Linked DNA regions of Homo sapiens: all the other regions are linked to region 2. Evidence: promoter capture Hi-C in 16 types of primary human blood cells and fetal thymus (Javierre and others, 2016). All regions are on one chromosome and are shown on one strand. Each heading gives the region's core, a stretch centred on a gene start or on the middle of the fragment in contact. The rest is flanking DNA. Distances are from core to core; before and after follow the strand shown. Region 1 holds the start of TRPC1 (transient receptor potential cation channel subfamily C member 1). Region 2 holds the start of DIPK2A (divergent protein kinase domain 2A). Region 3 has its middle 300 kb from the start of LNCSRLR.

Region 1 (3,431 bases), core at 762-3,261, 1.2 Mb before region 2:
GGATCTGCATCTCTCACCTTATACAAAAATAAACTCAAGATGGATCAAGAACTTAAATCTAAGACCTGAAACTATAAAAATTCTAGAAGATAACATCGGAAAACCCCTTGTAGACATTGGCTTAGGCAAGGATTTCATGACCAAGAACCCAAAAGCAAATGCAATGAAAAGAAAGATAAATAGCTGGGACTTGATTAAATGAAAGAGCTTTTGCATGGCAAAGGGAAGAGTTAGCAGAGTAAACAGACAACCCACAGAGTGGGAGAAAATCTTCATAATCTATGCATCTGACAAAGGACTACTATCCAGAATCTACAATGAATTCAAACAAATAATCAAGAAAAAAAAAATCCTAACAAAAACTGGGCTAAAAACATGAAAAGGGCTGGGGGCAGTGGCTCATGCTTGTAATCCCAGCACTTTGGGAGGCTGAGGCAGGCAGATCACCTGAGGTCTGGAGTTCGAGACCAGCCTGACCAACAGGGAGAAACACTGTCTCTACTAAAAATACAAAATTAGCCGGGTGTGGTGGCACATGCCGGTAATACCAGCTGGTCGGAAGGCTGAGGCAGGAGAATCACTTGAACCTGGGAGGCGGAAGTTGCGGTGAGCCAAGATCACGCCATTGCACTCCAGCCTGGGCAACAAGAGCAAAACTCTGTCTCAAGAAAAAACAAAAAAACATGAATAGACAATTCTCAAAAGAAGATACACAAATGGCCAACAAACATATGAAAAAATGCTCAAGATCACTAATGATCAGGGAATTCCAAGTCAAAACTGCTATGCCGTATGTACCACCCTACTTCCGCAAGAATGGCCATAATCAAAAAAATCAAAAAATAATAGCTGTTGGTGTGGATGCGGTGAAAAGGGAACACTTCTACATTACTGGTGGGACTGTAAACTAGTACACCACTATGGAAAACAGTGTGGAGATTCCTTAGAGAACTAAAAGTAGAACTACCATTTGATCCAGTAATCCCACTACTGGGTATCTACCCAGAGGAAAAGAAGTCATTACACGAAAAAGATACTTGCCCATGCATATTTATAGCAGCACAATTCGCAATTGCAAAAATGTGGAGCCAACCCAAATGCCCATGAATCAATGAGTGGATAAAGAAACTGTGATATATATATATATATATATATATGTGGTATATATATATGTGATATATATATAATGATGGAATACTACTCAGCCATAAAAAGGAATGAATAAATGGCATTCGCAGAAACCTGGATGGGACTGGAGACTATTATTCTTATTCTAAATGAAGTAACTCAGGAATGGAAAACCAAACATCGTATGTTCTCACTCACAAGTGAGAGCTAAGCTTTGAGGATGCAAAGGCATAGGAATGACACAATGGACTTTCGGGACTCGGGGAAAGGTTGGGAAGGGGGAGAGGGATAAAAGACTACAAAATTAGGTTCAGTGTATACTGCTCGATGATGGGTACATCAAAATCTCACAAATCATCACTAAAGAACTTACTCATGTAACCAAACACCACCTGTTCCTCAAAAACCTATGGAAATAATATGGAAATAAAAATTTATATATTTGTATAAATTATTTAAACATAATATAATTATATATCTATATATCCTTTATAAATGAGAGTTCATTTCCAGCCTAAAATGAGTACAACATACAAACCCACGAGTCTGGCTCTCCATTGTGCTTTAAAGCATAGTGCACCAGAATATGAAATAGCTGGACAATTCCACAAAGGATTTCGACTAAACATTAAGTCGTCAGAGACTCAATTAACATACTGCTCCATATTTGCTTAATTACCTTAAACCAGTACCCTGGGTGTGGAAAGGGACGATTGAGCGAAGTCTTCCTCAGACTGCGGTTCACCTCACCAGAGCGAAGGAAGCTGCAGCGGGCTCCAGGAGCCCAGTGCGTCCCCACCGCAGGCCCCACCCACCCACGCCCCGCTTGCCGCAGGCCCCGCCCACCCAAGCCCGCCCTTGCCGCAGGCTCCTCCCTAGTGTCGTCGCTACAGAGGAGCAGAGGATGACGTGAGGACAGAGTCGCGAACATCTCCTCGGAGCGCAGCTGGGCCAGCGGTTCCCACAGCCCTGGAGCCCAACGTGCGCAGAAGCGCCTCTTGGAGCTCCTCTCCCACAGATCTCTCGTCCTCTTCCTGGGCTAGGCCGCCCCAGGCGCGGCCCCTGCGACTCCTGGCACGGCCCCGTGCTCGGCTGCCGCCCTGGCGCGCGCCACACTGTCGTCCCCGGACGGGCGCGGACCGGCTCGGCCGGGGCGCCGGCGGCTGGGGAGGGGTCGCTGGCCCCGGGGCCGCGCATGCGCCGCCACCAACTTGGGGCTGTCAGTGGAGGGCGAGTGCTGGTTCTCAGGGGAGGCGACGCCCTTCGGGGCCAACGGGCCTCGAGCCGAGGCAGCAGTGGGAACGACTCATCCTTTTTCCAGCCCTGGGGCGTGGCTGGGGTCGGGGTCGGGGTCGGGGCCGGTGGGGGCCCCGCCCCCGTCTCCTGGCCTGCCCCCTTCATGGGCCGCGATGATGGCGGCCCTGTACCCGAGCACGGACCTCTCGGGCGCCTCCTCCTCCTCCCTGCCTTCCTCTCCATCCTCTTCCTCGCCGAACGAGGTGATGGCGCTGAAGGATGTGCGGGAGGTGAAGGAGGAGAATACGCTGAATGAGAAGCTTTTCTTGCTGGCGTGCGACAAGGGTGAGAGTTAGGCCCCTTTCTCCTCTGGACGCCCCTGTCCTCCAGACCTTTAGTCCTCTCCCCCGCCTCAACTTATATCGGGGCATTCCCTCTGTCTCAGGCGCCGAGTGTCTTCCCGCCTCGCCTGCTGCCTCAGGCGGTCTTCTCCTCACCGCCTCTGCCCTGTGAGTGTGGAGCTGGCGGGAGAGTGGAGCTGGGGCTGCGCCCTCGGAGCGCTGCACCGTCGGGGGTGGCTCTGGCCTTGGGGTCCGGGGTTTAGGTAGCGCCTTGGGAGCCCCGACCCCAGCGTTTTAGCGCCGCCCTTGCTACTGACCGCATGAATGACCTGGTCTTCTCTCTGGCTCGCAGTTCATTCCTTCCGGGAGTCGAGAGGCTAGTTTCCGACACTCCAGTCGGAAAATTCCGTCACCTTACCTTAGGATGCCTCGTATGGAGGGTTCTCATCACCTGGTTTTTGTTTTTCTTAAAAACAAAACCAGACCCTCTATTATTTAGCTTCACCTGACCAGTGCTTTAGCCAGTGACTGTTGACTGGCATTAATAACGGAATATCCTAGGTGGAGATACATGAAGTAAGGACGGGACGGAAGAAATTCTGCCTTAGTTGCCAAAACTTTCTCTGGATTTACGGAACGCCTTTGATTGTTAGTGCTTTTTATTGGAGAGAAAGATTTATTGCTCCCAGATCTTTCTTTGGGAGATAAAGATAGTGAAAAATAATT
Region 2 (3,033 bases), core at 352-2,851:
AGCAGCAGCAGCCTCACAGCTGAACTACAGCACAGGTCTCCAGAACCATCACACCAAACTCCTTTTCCTAAGAAAATCTCACTTGAGCTTTTAACTCTATATTATATGGAGTTTGGGGATATTTGAAAGCAAGTTAAATAAAATTCCCACCAAAGGCGGCATAAGGCACTAGGCAGAAGTAGCCAAACTTAAGTACAGTAAGTCAATTTCTAGAAAGCTTTGAATATTATTTCAATTTGTCTGTCCGTATTCAATGCAAATCGTTACAAAATCACGTCTATTTTGAATTTATTAAATTTCTCAAAGTTTTTTTTTCAAAATCTGAGTTCTTATAAGAATTTGTAACAAATACCTGTTACAATTAAACAATACTGAAAGTATTGTTACTTTTGATAACCTGGTATAGATGTTTCTTATTAACCCGCTGTAGAGTTGATCTACACATGCCAGTTACCATGGTCTTCTAAAAGCACTGTTCAAGCCCTAAAATTAACTCAGTTAAGACTCAGTTGTTTAATAACGTATCAGGAACCACCTGTCCCTCAGACTAAAAATCACTTCTCATTTTAACTACTCTAGCACTAAAAGTGAATAGCATAATAATGTATCTACTAGCGCTACTGCTAAACAGTCCGGGTCCCCTGAAACTTATCCCTAAACACAGTGCTTTCGTGCGGCATCTGCGCCTTACTTTTGCAGTCTGGGGTGACTGAGTCAACGTGACCGTGCGGAGCACCAAGCAGCCCCGGGTCCCCATGGCTACCGCCAGGGCAACGCTTCGCGGCCCGCTCCTCAGGGACCCTCAGGGGCGGCACCGGGAAATCAGCTTTGCGGAGAGGAACCGCAGGGCTCCGGGGACGGGCTAGGGCAGCCGGCGGGCAGCAGAGGCAAGCCTGGCAAACTCTTCCCGGCTTCTTCGCGGCGCTTGGGGCAGACGTCCTGGCGACACCAGGCCGCGTCGGTTCCCCTTCATCCTATTTTCCCTTTAACACGGTGGCTTGAGAACTTTATTTTGTGCTCACTCAAGAAAATTTTAAATGATTTTACAGATACAACCCCAAAGATGAAGCTCCAACAAACCCGCCACTACTCGAGCCTTTCTCACCGTCTTCCTCACAGGCCCCACCCCCTACCGCGAGGAGCACGAGCTGAGGGGAACACAAGCCCCCGTCGGGCACTCCCCGGCCTCGCCCCACCCCCCAGGCGCGCACCCAACCCATATAAGGCGAGGGGAGGCAATCGCGCCAGCTCTGCCTCCGCCTCGCGCGCCGTCCAGAGGGAAGGATTTGCAATAGACTTCCTCAGTTCATTTCTTCTTATTCCCTCCTCCCTTAAAGGGCCGTTTCCACAATAGTGAAAGGAACGCACCAGTAAACCACAATAATCATAAAAGATGACTGTAATTAAGACTCTTTCTGAAACCAGAAACCGCGAGTTCATGCCCCCACCTCAAGAGCCCGAGCTTCCCCCTCTCTGAACCGCCCCCACACCCGCTCCCGCGAGCTCCCGCTTACGCTTTCCGGGCGGCGCGCGACGCGCTCGCTCCGCCCCTCTGGCCCCGCCCCCGGCTCCCCTTCTTGGTCTCAGGAGAGCCAGCGCGCACAAGCAAGGGTGTGCGGCTCTGAGACGTGCGTTGCTGCTTGTGGGTGTGAGACATCCTAGCTCCTCTTCCCCTTCCGTGAGTCCCTCCTTTCCTCGCAGACCCCACTTGTCGTGGCTGGCTGCCGCCGCAGCTCTTGTGCGAAGCCAGCAGTGCGCGTGCGCGCGGGCACGGGCGCGCGACCGTCGGGTCCCCGCGCTCCCTCCCCCTCCCGCTCCTCTATAACTTGGCTGGCGTGGAGGAGGCGCCGCCGGAGTCGGAGGGCGGGGAGCTAGGAGGAGGGAGCTCGAGAGTTGTGGAGACTAGTGACTGGGAGAAGTCGCAGCCCGCTCAGGCCCGCGCCTTCCCGCTCCCCGTCTTCCTCTCTCACACACCTACTCCGCCCTCCGCCCCAGCCCGCGCGCTAGCTCCTTCTCTCGCCCGGGGTTCCTGCCGGTAGCTCTCCGGGTCTTGGCGCGGCGGGGGCGCCCCGGGGGTGCCCTCGCCCTCCCGTTGCGGGCGGGCGGGCGGTATGTGGCGCCTGGTGCCCCCGAAGCTGGGCCGCCTGTCCCGCTCGCTGAAGCTGGCGGCGCTGGGCAGCCTGTTGGTGCTGATGGTGCTGCACTCGCCGTCGCTGCTCGCCTCTTGGCAGCGCAACGAACTGACCGACCGGCGCTTCCTGCAGCTCAATAAGTGCCCGGCGTGCTTCGGCACGAGCTGGTGCCGCCGCTTCCTCAACGGGCAGGTGGTATTCGAGGCGTGGGGCCGCTTGCGCCTGCTGGACTTCCTCAACGTGAAGAACGTGTACTTCGCGCAGTACGGCGAGCCCCGCGAGGGCGGCCGCCGCCGAGTGGTGCTCAAGCGCCTCGGCTCGCAGCGCGAGCTGGCGCAGCTCGACCAGAGCATCTGCAAGCGGGCCACCGGCCGGCCCCGCTGCGACCTGCTGCAGGCCATGCCCCGGACCGAGTTCGCGCGCCTCAACGGCGACGTGCGTCTGCTCACGCCCGAGGCGGTGGAGGGCTGGTCGGACCTGGTGCACTGCCCCTCGCAGCGCCTTCTCGACCGCCTGGTGCGCCGCTACGCGGAGACCAAGGACTCGGGCAGCTTCCTGCTTCGCAACCTCAAGGACTCGGAGCGCATGCAGCTGCTGCTGACCCTGGCCTTCAACCCCGAGCCGCTGGTGCTACAGGTAGGCGCGGAGCCAGGGCAGGGGGCGTCCTGGGAGGGGCCGCGCGTGGGAATCAGAGTCGGGAGAAGTGGCTCAGCCAGCGCTTGCCGCCAGTTCGGACTCGGCCGGGCTGGGCCAGGCTGCAGGCGTGGGAAGGGGCGTCTCCGGGGGAGCCCCGGGGCTGTGCAGGGAGGCCGAGGGCGACCCCGCTGATGGAGAGTCTGCTCTTGTTACCTAGATTCGGGCGCATTTCGGATTTGACTGTGGATCTTTCAACGCCAGAGGG
Region 3 (3,368 bases), core at 290-2,789, 1.8 Mb after region 2:
TTTGGTATTCTTAACCCAAGTATAGGCTTCCTATAGGATGTGATACATTCTGAGACCCAAAATGCATACATCTATTCCTGATTCAACTATCATATAATTTCAAGATAATTATTTCCTCTATTGATTTCACCATCTTTGAAATGGAAACAAACATGTGTTCACTTCTAAGTATCGGGGGAACCCGCCCCCAATATTTCAACATAGGTTCTTTCTATTTTCTGGCTGAGAAATAAAAAGAAAGAGTACAAAGAGAGGAATTTTATGGCTTGGCCCCCGGGGGTGACATCACATATTGGTAGGACCGTGATGCCCACCTGAGCCTCAAACCAGCAAGTTTTTTATTAAGGGTTTCAAAAGGGGAGGGGGTGAAATAACAGAGAGTAGGTACAAAGATCACATGCTTCAAAGGGCAAAAAGCAGACCAAAGATCACATGCTTCTGAGTGAACAAGGCAAAGGGCAAAAGCAGAACTACTGATAAGGGTCTATGTTCAGCAGTGCATGTATTGTCTTGATAAACATCTTAAACAACAGAAAACAGGGTTTGAGAGCAGAGAACCAGTCTGACCACAAATTTACCAGGGTGGAGTTTTTTCCCTACCCTAGTAAGCCTGAGGGTACTGCAGGAGACCAGGGCACATCTCAGTCCTTATCTCAACCACATAAGACAGACAATCTCAGAGCGGCCATTTATAGACCTCCCCCCAAGAATGCATTCCTTTCCCAGGGTATTAATATTAATTGCTAAGGAAAGAATTTAGTGATATCTCTCTTACTTCCATATCCGTTTGTAGGCTTTCTGCAAGAAGAAAAATATGGCTCTTTTTGCCCAACCCAGCAGGCAGTCAGACCTTATGGTTGTCTTCCCTTGTTCCCTAAAAATTGCTGTTATTTTCTTCTTTTTCAAGGTGCACTGATTTCATATTGTTCAAACACACGTGTTTTACAATCAACTTGTACAGTTAACACAATTATCATAGTGGTCCTGAGGTGACATATATCCTCAGCTTACTAAGATAACAGCATTAAGAGATTAAAGTAAAGACAGGCATAAGAAATTATAAAAGTATTATTTGGGAACTGATAAATGTCCATGAAATCTTCACGATTTATGTTCCTCTGCCACGGCTCCAGCCGGTCCCTCCGTTTGGGGTCCCTGACTTCCCGCAACACTAAGAGTGTTATAAACTTTAAAGCAGTCTTAGTTCAGAGCTGCTCATTCACCCTTCAGCATCATGAATTACTCATATTTCATTTGTGTAACACGTTCACTTTGTGGTAAAGCTGTATGTAGAGCTGCCTTCAAGTAGCAATGGCCTTCCTGCTACCTCTACATAAATTGTACTTTAGTGCCAATGTGAGCACACTGTATCCAGGTTTCATTACGGCTCACCAAGTAATCATCACCTAAATTAAAACACCACTTCTTCTGTACCATGGGGTTCTCATAATAAAACAAAATCTCATAGACCACCTCTCTCTCACGTGTTTCACATAAGTGCCACGAGCTCATTCAGTCTCTGCATTTCAAGGATTTGTCCCACCATAAGATTATCTGTCTGAGAGAGTTATTACTTTTGGACATTGTATGAGTTGGTATTATTTGATGCTCGTCAATACTATTTAATAAAACAAATTCTGAAAATTGCTTCTACTGCTTTCTTTCTGAGGCTATATAACCTTGCATTTGTTTTTAAATATTTCTTTTTCAAGAACTAGAACTTTGAGTCTTTATTTTTAGCAACTAAATTGATCAATTGCATGAAAGAAAGCAATATTTTTCACTTATTCTAAAAAAAATACATCTAATTTGGTTGACTAGCGAGATCACTGTGCTTTGTTTTAAAAATATGTGATAGCTTCATTGGTTTCTTGATGCTATTCAACAAATTTTCAATACAAACAATGTTCCAAAGAATAGAGGTAGATGAATCACTTTATTGGTCCAGTAAAATCCAATTCTATTATATACAGTTCTCCTTCCTGTTGGCAACTTTTATGACTGCTTGTGTAAAAACACCATGTCAGATTTACATGCTATACCCATGTAATTTATTCTGTACTTAAAAGGTAGTAGATTATATTTATAATGTTGTTTGAGTTGTAGCATTTATGTTACTATGTCTCTATATTTATGATTTAGTGGATGGCCTTTGAACAATTGATCCATTTCTGTTATTTAGGAATATAATATATCATTTCAGTAATAAAAAAACACACATACAAAAAGTCAAGCATAGAATGTGTAGAAATTTACCCACAAATGACTTAAAATGTGTCAGCCAAAAGGAACCACATCTTTTTAGCAGAAAGGAAGTGCTACAATCCTATAGCTGACACGTGTTCCAAGGCTATAGTAATCTTTTACTTAATTAGCAAGATGTCTGCAGAGAGAAAAAAGAATCTTCCATTTCAAATGTATGAAATGCCCATGGGTTATAATTATGAGAAACATAAGAAGCTGGAGGACCTGAGAAACCGCCTCAGCTGGAGTCTAGCATACAGGATGTTCATTAGAGCTCTTGGGATCTGTACCTGTGAAGATTGGAGAATGGATGGAGGATTGATTGAGCAGAGGGAGAAGTTGGATGTCATTGTAGTCTCAAAGGTGTGCACCTTGTGGACTGTGAACTTCCAGGTGGCACAAAGGACCTGCCTGAACACAGTGCTGAGAGACTTGGCCAAACTTTAGCCTGACTCCTACCTCCCCTAGGTGGTATTTCTAGAGGTGGCACCAGCCCCTAGGCTGAGTCTTTGCTCAAGAAAATGTAACAAAGTGCACATTGTCCCAATGTACATTGCCAAATGATTTTCAATAATTTTCCACTTATCCCCCATCACATATTTTTTCACTTCCCCATAGCCCCCAGTCCCCTTTAGTTACTTTATTTTACTTCCTTATAGCCCTTTTTTGTTCTCTCTATTTTCTCCTAGTTAATTTTGTCTTAGTTGGAAGTGAGCATAGTTTTTAATGGAGTGTCTCTTTCCTACTGCAGAAGGCTGAATAAATCAGCCTTGCCACTTTTAATAAGCGTCTAGTGCTATTAAGTATTTCTCTTTGACATCCTTCAGAGCAGTTGTGAATTGAGGCAAGAAGGCCAAGCCTTTATACAATTCCATTTATTGGCCACTGGATGTGGGCTGCCCTTACGATCAGGCATGATCTTATGTAAGGCAGTTTTCTTCAACCGTAGCAATCCTAACCCTCCCAGAATTCTTTGAATTCTGCTCTCTAACATTAATTTATGCCAGTACCATGACACATATTCCTGAGTATTCATTTGTTATCTCAGTTTTTTAGAAGGTCAAGAAATATACAGTTCTGTCTCCCCCAAACGAAATAAAGAAACCATGTCCATAAAGTTATTT

Evidence for each region. Contacts are between HindIII fragments. The CHiCAGO score rates a contact against its expected background, and 5 or more counts as called.
Region 1: a contact is called between the fragment with the promoter of TRPC1 here and the fragment with the promoter of DIPK2A in region 2, in 3 of 17 cell types (fetal thymus, total CD4 T cells and activated CD4 T cells). The highest score is 6.6, in fetal thymus.
Region 3: a contact is called between a fragment that was not itself captured here and the fragment with the promoter of DIPK2A in region 2, in 1 of 17 cell types (endothelial precursors). The highest score is 7.2, in endothelial precursors.

What each region holds. Positions count from the first base shown.
Region 1 is chr3:142,722,023-142,725,453 of GRCh38, forward strand. TRPC1 (transient receptor potential cation channel subfamily C member 1) reads left to right here and starts at 2,012. Exons shown (of 13, transcript NM_001251845.2): 1 at 2,012-2,709. The coding sequence starts at 2,538. RefSeq lists a silencer at 2,256-2,305 and an enhancer at 2,564-3,430. The HindIII fragment of the contact is 1,344 bases long and covers 1,339-2,682 here.
Region 2 is chr3:143,970,222-143,973,254 of GRCh38, forward strand. DIPK2A (divergent protein kinase domain 2A) reads left to right here and starts at 1,602. Exons shown (of 3, transcript NM_173552.5): 1 at 1,602-2,768. The coding sequence starts at 2,112. RefSeq lists enhancers at 908-1,488, 968-1,077, 1,348-1,437, 1,489-2,069 and silencers at 1,168-1,217, 1,548-2,197, 2,688-2,927. The HindIII fragment of the contact is 6,379 bases long and covers 216-3,033 here.
Region 3 is chr3:145,770,763-145,774,130 of GRCh38, forward strand. No RefSeq gene overlaps it. Among named protein-coding and RNA genes, the nearest start is that of LNCSRLR, 300 kb to the right of the region's middle. The HindIII fragment of the contact is 5,024 bases long and covers 1-3,368 here.